Linked DNA regions of Homo sapiens: all the other regions are linked to region 1. Evidence: promoter capture Hi-C in 16 types of primary human blood cells and fetal thymus (Javierre and others, 2016). All regions are on one chromosome and are shown on one strand. Each heading gives the region's core, a stretch centred on a gene start or on the middle of the fragment in contact. The rest is flanking DNA. Distances are from core to core; before and after follow the strand shown.

Region 1 (2,700 bases), core at 82-2,581:
GGAGGTCTGAGTGGATAAGGCCTAAGCACTGATGTGGCTTTGGTAATGAACCTGAAGTTAAAAACTGGTTAGCTTATGCTAAGCTGCCATTTGAAAGGTCTCCTCCAGCATCTGAATTAAGGGAAACAATGTTTTGAAGCAGTCACAAAACTTTTCTGATGCATTAGATCTGAGGTAGGACCTGATAATTTGTACTTCTAAATTATGCAGGTGATGCTGATGCTGCTGGTCCGGAGACCACTTTGGAGAGTTTTACTTTAAAGGAAATGAAACTGCCCTAAAATGCTAATACTAAATAGCCACACAAAGCCGGAAAAAAGCAAAGAATTTCAAACCGAAGATGAGAGGTCCTGAAAAATAACAGCGGTCATCCTACTCCCGGTGCGGCTATGCGGCCATGAAAAGGAGTCTTGGGGCCGGTCGTGCCCCTCCACGCAGGCTCCCTCATAGGGTCATCCCATCAACCCTCGCCAAAAACGCCGGCCCCCTCATAGGGCCGTCCGGCCACGCCCCTCCGTGCCCTAACCACAGAGCCACACGTTACGCCGCCGCCCCGTTACGCCCATCCGGCTCCCGCATAGGGCGTCACGTACGTTTAACGTCGGCCCGGCGCGCGCGTCCGGGAGGTTGCCCGTAGGCCGCTAACTGGTGGTTCCCAGTCCCCGCCGACTCGGCCTCTTTCTTCTGCGGCCACCAGATCGCGGGATATCGGAGACTTCGAACAATCCGCTGGAGTCCTTTACAGTTTAAAAACAGAGGACCGGCCGGGCGCGGTGGCTCACGCCTGTAATCCCAGCACTTTGGGAGGCCGAGGCGGGCGGATCACGAGTTCAGGAGATAGAGACCATCCTGGCTAACACCGTGAGACCCCGTCCCTATCAAAAGTACAAAAAAATTAGCCGGGTGTGGTGGCACGCGCCTGTAGTCCCAGCTACTCAGGAGGCTGAGGCAGAAGAATCGCTAGAACCAGGGAGGCGGAGGTTGCAGTGACCGAGATCGCGCCGCTGCACTCCAGCCTAGGCGACAGAGCGAGACTGCGTCTCAAAACAAAAAAAACGGAGGATCGAAAATTTTGAAGACTGAGAGCAAGGCAACAATCTTCCCTTGACCTTTTTGCTCCTCTCACAAGGGTTTTTCAGACGGCTGAAACCAACGAAAAGAGTGAGGAAGCAGGCAGAAAATTTCAGCTTTAGTCTCTCAGCATCCTCCTGCTTTCTTCTCGGGGAGCTGGCACTTCCCCCTTCTCTAGTAGCTGTAAATACGCCTCCCAACTCCAAGGAGACCTTTCTTGCATCTCCCTTACTGTTCTCACGCCTGTAGGGCTCTTCGTGTGAGGATTCAGTGTATGTATGTATGTATATGAATGTGTGCGAATAATTATTTCCTAATTGAGTTTTTTTTTAAAAAAATCATCTTCCGGTACACGCAGTGCCGTACTCCATTAAACAGCAGGCACGGTGTCTAGGGTCCGCAGTTCTTTTGGAGGCTCATGAAAATATTTTAATTTCTTCTAAAGTCAGAAGGAAAAAAATGAACATTTAAGTCGAAGAAGATGTTACATATTAATCTTCATATGACTTTAATTTTTTTTTTTTTTTTTTTGAAACGGAGTCTCGCTCTGTCCCCCAGGCTGGAGTACAGTGGCGCAGTCTCGGCTCACTGCAAGCTCTGCCTCCCGGGTTCACGCCATTCTCCTGCCTCAGCTTCCCGAGTAGCTGGGACTACAGTCACCACGCCCGACTAAGTTTTTTTGTATTTTTTAGTAGAGACGGGGTTTCACCGTGTTAGCCAGGATGGTCTCGATCTCCTGACCTCGTGATCCGCCCGCCTCGGCCTCCCAAAGTGCTGGGATTACAGGCGTGAGCCACAACGCCTGGCCTATGCCCACTAATTCCAATTCTTATTTGATCTAATTGTTTATAGATTCTTGTGAACTTTTACCTTGACAATTATGTTATTTTCAAAGATAATCATCTTTTCCTATTGAATCCTTGCTCTTCTGACTGCCTGTTCCTATCTCATGGTATTGGCCAAACCCTGTGATGCCGTGTTGAATAGGAGTACTTTCTCACCACACTTGTCTTCCTTCCGCCTCTATGGGAATCCTTCCAAAACGGCACCATTAAGTGTTATACTCGCTGTAGCTCCTCCTTATGAAGTTCTCTTCTCATTGTAGTCTGTTAAGTGTTTATGATTAAAGAGTGTTATATTTTGTTAAATGCTTTCGCAGTATCTTTGGAGATGATCATGTTTTTTCTTTATTAATCTCTTTTTTATTTTATTTATTTTATTTTATTTTATTTTATTTTTTATTATTTTAGTTTTTATTTTGAGATGGAATCTCACTCTGTCTCCCAGGCTGGAGTGCAGTGCCCTGATCTAAGCTCATTACAACCTCTACCTCCCAGGTTCAAGCGATTCTTCTGCCTCACTTTCCCAAGTAACAGGGACTACAGGTGCGTGCCACCACATCTGGCTAAGTTTTGTATTATCAGAAGAAGATAGGCCGCCATTGGCCAGGCTGGCCTTGAACTCCTGACATTAAGTGATCCACCTGCCTCAGCCTCCTAAAGTGCTAGGAATACAGGCGTGAGCCACTGCTCTGGGCCTTCCTTTATTAATTTCTTAAACTGGCAGATTTAGAATACTAAACTTCCTTCTATTCTTAGAATAAACCCTATATAATCAGCTATTTATTTA
Region 2 (2,700 bases), core at 137-2,636, 910 kb after region 1:
CCCACCTGTGCACTGGGAAAAGGGGGTGGAGCCACGAAGTTAGCGTGGTTTGCAGAGGGGAGGAGCCCAGCCTCTTGTGTTCCTGTGTGGTGGGGCAGGAGCAGGTTAACAGGCCTCCCTCTCACTCTGCTGAAAGTATTTCTTTTTCCTTTTTCGCGCAATAAATTCCATTTTTCTCACCCTTCTATGCATCCTCAAGCCTAATCTTTCCTGGTTATGTGACAAGAACCCGGTTTTTAGCTGAACTAAGGAGAAAGTCCTACAACACTGCCACCATGTGGCAATTACTCCAAATAGAAGGAGAGGCTGAAGGACACACAACCAGGATGCAGAGAAAAAGATGGAGACAGAGTCTGTGCAAGATGGGATTGATACTGAGACTGGGTTAGCCACCTCTCCTAGACAGTGAAACAGATCGCAAGAGAGGCTGACCCAGAAAGACACATGCAAAACAATGGGCAATAGAACACATGACCTGAATTAGATTATCTGGGTTCAAATCCTGATTTTGCTATTCATTATCTGTGTATCACTGGGCAATTTACTCAATCTCTCTGTGCCTGAATATCCTCATTCAAAATCAGGGATGAAAAGAGTACTTATCTCAAAGGGCTATTTGCTCACTTATTGCACAAGTAATTTGGCATCTGATATGAACCAGGTGCACCTCTAGATGAGGATACTGTCACATTGAATGAAGACCAGTGACCAGAAGCCTGCCTCACAGCCCAGCTCAGTGAGAAAAATAATTCCATTCTCACCTCTAATCTCAACCCTGTGTCACCATTTATGTATAGTCCTTTGCATTAGTGTCTGGAAAGGTCATTTTTTGAGGGCAGAATGAATAACCTATAGAAGGATCATTCTTGGGTATAATGAATTAAAGAAGTATTATGAAGCTTTATAAGGCAGGATTAGCTCATAAAAATGGAGGGTTCTTTTGCTTTTCCAGTCCCATTTGTTGTTTCACAGACAAAGAATAAAACAATCACTGATGGCAAAGACTGCAAACTGCCAACGTTCATCGGTAGAGCAAGGTGACGCTCGTCCTGTCCAGGCCTGTGGTTGGGATAAGCTCAGAAAGCAGAGTCTCCAGGGCTGGTCATCATCTATCATAACCCTGCGTATAAAGAAAGCCTTGAGAAAGAAAAGAAGTGACTTATTATGTGTCTTCTGACCTGGTTCTCATTTTTATTCAAAACATTAGAACCTTGGGAAGATGAAGAGAGGGCCAGAAAAATGGGAAACCCTGGATACAGAAACTTGGCTAGCTGTTTACTTTTTCACTGTACATCTTTCTATTGCAATAGTTAAACCCCAATTAAGACTGAAATAACTCCTGAGGCAAACAAACGTAATTGTGGAGACAGAGGGGAAAATGTACTTCAGGGACTAGGATCCTGCAGAGGGTTTCCGTCTTCCTGACAGAAAAACAACTTTGAAAATTTGAGTCCTGGTAATAGTTTGTTAACCAAGAACTCTACAAATCCAGAAGGCACAAACATGGCTTGGGGAGCCTTACCTTGCCAGAAGGACTAACCCAGAGCTTTACTACACCATAGCTACCAAGGTGAGTAGACCTGACAATTCTTTTATTTATTCACATATGCCATATAATATTTCCCTCAGAAGTATGCATCTTGCTTTGTTCTTTGACTAAGCAAGGGAGTTTATGTGAGCCAGAGGACCTTGACTCTGCATCTAATCTTTACCTGGGGTCATAAACATGAAGGGGACCATTTCCAGAAGATGACCCTAGAAATGCTTGAGCATCTTTGTCCCAGTGTTCAGGATCTTGTACTGTAAGAGAGGTCCGGGGTGGTTCTTCCTATAAGGTTCCCTCTTTGGTTTCATCCAAAAATCACAAAGATAAAAAAGCTTTTCAGGTTTCTAGAAAAAACTCATTTTTAGGCTTACATTTTCACCTGCATTATAACTCTATCAGCATTATTAGCTTTCATCAAATTTCTTCATATCGTTTTTGGTGCATTTCTGTGATTTGCAAGTGGGCCAACTTTGTCTTTACCTATTAAGTAGTTAATTCATTAAGAAAGAGATAGAGAGAGTGTGTGTGTATATCTTGAAGGTTTTCTTTCTGCATCCATCCTTAAAGTCTCCTAATCCAATATATAATATTGTATCATATACAGAAGTCAACTTCATTAACCATATGCCAGTTTAATGGAAGCATCTATTAACAATCATTATGATTAAAAATCATACTTGCTCTTCAGAAATTTTCCACTTTTATTTTTGGCCAGGCTATAAGTAAGTATAACCTGATGTAACCCTGTAAATTTACCCTGGCATTATGTAGCAGGGAGCACTAATCTCATTTTCAGTTGAGAAAACTGGAGCTGAAATGGGTGCACTTCCTTACCTGCCTAAGCTATTAGGTATTAGAACTGGATGGAGCACTACACATCTATCTGAATGTGAAGCATGTTTTTTCAAATAGTTTTCAATCATGATTCCAAAAACAACTTGGAAGACCAGTCACCCTTCCTTCCTCTGATATTTTTCTTATTATTCAGTCAAAAAAATGGAAGTGTCTTATTAGTATTACAGAAGCTAATCTCTAATCTGAATCAGAGCTTTGGAACCTTGGGAAGATGAAGAGAGGGCCAGAAAACTGTGAAACCCTAGAAAAAGATAAGAAGAAACAAACATAAAAATATTTGATAAGGACATCAGGGTGGT
Region 3 (2,700 bases), core at 165-2,664, 950 kb after region 1:
GAAGCATTGATGATACATAAATTCTTACAAGCCAATGTTTCTCTTCTAGGAGAAATGGAAACTCAGAAATCAGTGCTCTCAAAGAAGGGAAATTAGGTATGATTTCTTGGGAGCCACAACCCAACAAGGCTTTCCAAATAATACAGTCCTGAATTTGAGCCTCAGAGAAGGCAGGTATATTTTCAAGTCATGCACTGTATCAATTGCCTTTTTTTGGTACATAAAAGAAAATACTGTATATGCTAATAATCATTAACAAAAAAACATTCAGGTAAAAAGAAAAAATCTGAGTTTTAACAAAACTGAAAAACACTCAGAAGAGGACTATATGGAATGACAATTTGTTTTTCATCTTCTGGATCATCCCCTGAGGAAAGTAAAGAAATTTCCCTCAGGATATTCCAGTTGGCAACAGCAGAGCAGAGGAATATTACTTTATTCATTTATTCAGAGAAGTACTTTGCTGGGCACTGTTCTAGAAGCTGGGAAATACAAGTGATCAAAATATAACCTACCCCACAACTCCCAAATCCAGCTCGAAAAAACTTTTAGTGTGGAGGATGGGATAGTAAAGATAATAAGCCAATGAATAAGGAAAACATAGCATTTCAGATCTTTATATTATGATAAAAAAAAAAAAGTCCTAAATTGGAACAGGAAACACAGATGGGGTGGCTCAATTACAAGACAGCAGTTAAAGAAGGCCTCACTGACAAGATGAGTTCCCAGTGTCAGGACCCCAATATCCTTCCTTACAAAGAGTGGGGATCCCACCCTAGAAAAGGAATAGCAGTTCAGCCACCCCACAGCAGCTCTGGCATGGCTGTTTCTGGATACCTTCATGGAGAAATGCACACACTGCCCTTCATTTCAAAGATGAGCATCAGTCTCGTCTTCAGAGAAGATGCAGCCATTGTGGGGTTAGGGTTTCTCTCCTCAGGTCACTAGTGTAGATGCGCCTGCTGAGAAGTTTCAGCCACTCCACCTGCAATAAGAAAGACAGTTAATGAGAAAAGCAAGAGACAGAACCTGTGAAGAACATGTGACCATCAGTCATTTGAATGAAAGGGGGCAAATGTGAATGAAAGGGGACACATTTGTTTATTTGTGTTTGTATAAAGATATTCCAGACAGGTACACAGGAAACGAATAAAAGTGGTTAATTGTAGTATATCAAAGATAAAACACCAGGCCTTACTTTAAATGACGAAAACAGATTTTATTTAGTAACCACTGACAGTGGGGAACCATCTGGGTTTCATAACTGGCACATATCAAAATCAGGCTCCACTCCTACCAGAGCCTGGGAGACGAGGGCCCTATCTTCAGACGTTGACTGAAACAAACAGTAAATTCCTTTGGCGGCATCAATTGAGTTTTCTCAGGCAGGCACTTGAGAAGACCGGGGCTATTAGTAACTATGTTCGGGTTTGTTCAGGTCTTTATAGACCAAGGTGGCCACCTAGTCCAGAAGAGGGCTCAGAAGAAGCCGCCTAGAGTTTGGTCAAAAAGAGAATCTTTGCCAAGTAGATGGGGGAACTGGGCGGCTGGGGGCTGTTGGGGATGTGATGGTTTATAGTATTTCTTGTATATTCAATTATTAAACCGTAGCAATGAAATGCCTAATCGAAATCATAAAACGAAACAAAGTTTTGGCTACATTAGCCTATCCGTTATTGCCATAAGATGGCGACAGCCCTTCTCAACTCATAAAACTAAACAAAGTTTTAGCTACATTATCCCATCCATTATCGCCACAAGATGGCGATAGCGCTTCTCAACTCGCCTGCGGGACGGAGGCAGGGTGCGGCCCGGAGAACTCCTCCCTGTTCCAACAGCAGCTCTCCAGCCCGCAGCGCTTCCTGACGTTCCGTTAGTTCAGTCTCCTGAACTTCTCTGCATGTAGATTCCTCTCAGGGTAGCCCTTTGTTGACCAAAAACGAAATATGTTCACTGATTTGGCCAGCTTTTTTTTTTTTAACTTTTTTTTTGGAGGGGAAAGGGAGTGGTCATGGACATCCTGAAGCAGACACAAAAATATAGAGAATCCTGCACTTCCCAAGTCTCGTCGCACAGGCTTCAACAATTACCAACATCTTGCCCATTTTGTTTCATTATCCGCACCCACACTGACAGATGAGGGAGTCTAAAAAATATCTGAAACATGAAATCCCAAATATGTGATTTTAATCATGAATATTTTCACAAATATCCTAACAGATATGGATATAAAGAAAAAACGCTAAGATTTTACACCTAAGAAAATTTAAAAAATGATGTGTAACATTATCCAATACCTAGCCCTTAAAGAAAGAAAATCCTGAATTGTCTCAAATATTTTTATATTTTGTCTGAATGAGATCCCACCAGATCCAAATATGGCATTTGATTGCTGTTCCTCTTGAATGTATTAAAATCCATAGATTTACCCAAGTCTCCAAGTAGCCTGACTGCCCTTTGAAAAAGGAATTGAGACCATAATCTGGGTGGGAATTCTCACTGATCATGGATTGTCATTGCTTTTAAACCATTCTTTGAAAAGTGTTGGGGAAAAAATATTTTGTTTTCTTTCTTTTTTTTTTTTTTTTTTTTTTGAGACAGAGTCTCTCTCTGTTGCCCAGGCTGGAGTGCAGTAGCACGATTTCAGCTCATTGCAACCTCTGCCTTGCGAGTTCAAGTGATTTTCCTGCCTCAGGCTCC

What was found. The method cuts DNA at HindIII sites, captures the fragments that hold promoters and counts their contacts. A CHiCAGO score of 5 or more calls a contact.
Region 2: a fragment that was not itself captured here is called in contact with the fragment with the promoter of H2BC6-AS1 in region 1 in 2 of 17 cell types (total B cells and naive B cells); the score reaches 5.6 in total B cells.
Region 3: a contact is called between a fragment that was not itself captured here and the fragment with the promoter of H2BC6-AS1 in region 1, in 4 of 17 cell types (non-activated CD4 T cells, fetal thymus, naive CD8 T cells and 1 more). The highest score is 6.0, in non-activated CD4 T cells.

The regions. Positions count from the first base shown.
Region 1 is chr6:26,171,442-26,174,141 of GRCh38, forward strand. H2BC6-AS1 (H2BC6 antisense RNA 1) reads right to left here and starts at 1,332. Exons shown (of 3, transcript NR_186648.1): 1 at 594-1,332. RefSeq lists an enhancer at 406-1,298. The HindIII fragment of the contact is 22,011 bases long and covers 1-2,700 here.
Region 2 is chr6:27,078,800-27,081,499 of GRCh38, forward strand. No RefSeq gene overlaps it. Among named protein-coding and RNA genes, the nearest start is that of TRP-CGG2-1, 12 kb to the right of the region's middle. RefSeq lists a silencer at 1-36. The HindIII fragment of the contact is 979 bases long and covers 898-1,876 here.
Region 3 is chr6:27,125,478-27,128,177 of GRCh38, forward strand. No RefSeq gene overlaps it. Among named protein-coding and RNA genes, the nearest start is that of H2BC11, 6.0 kb to the right of the region's middle. RefSeq lists enhancers at 1,570-1,619, 1,830-1,899. The HindIII fragment of the contact is 5,241 bases long and covers 1-2,700 here.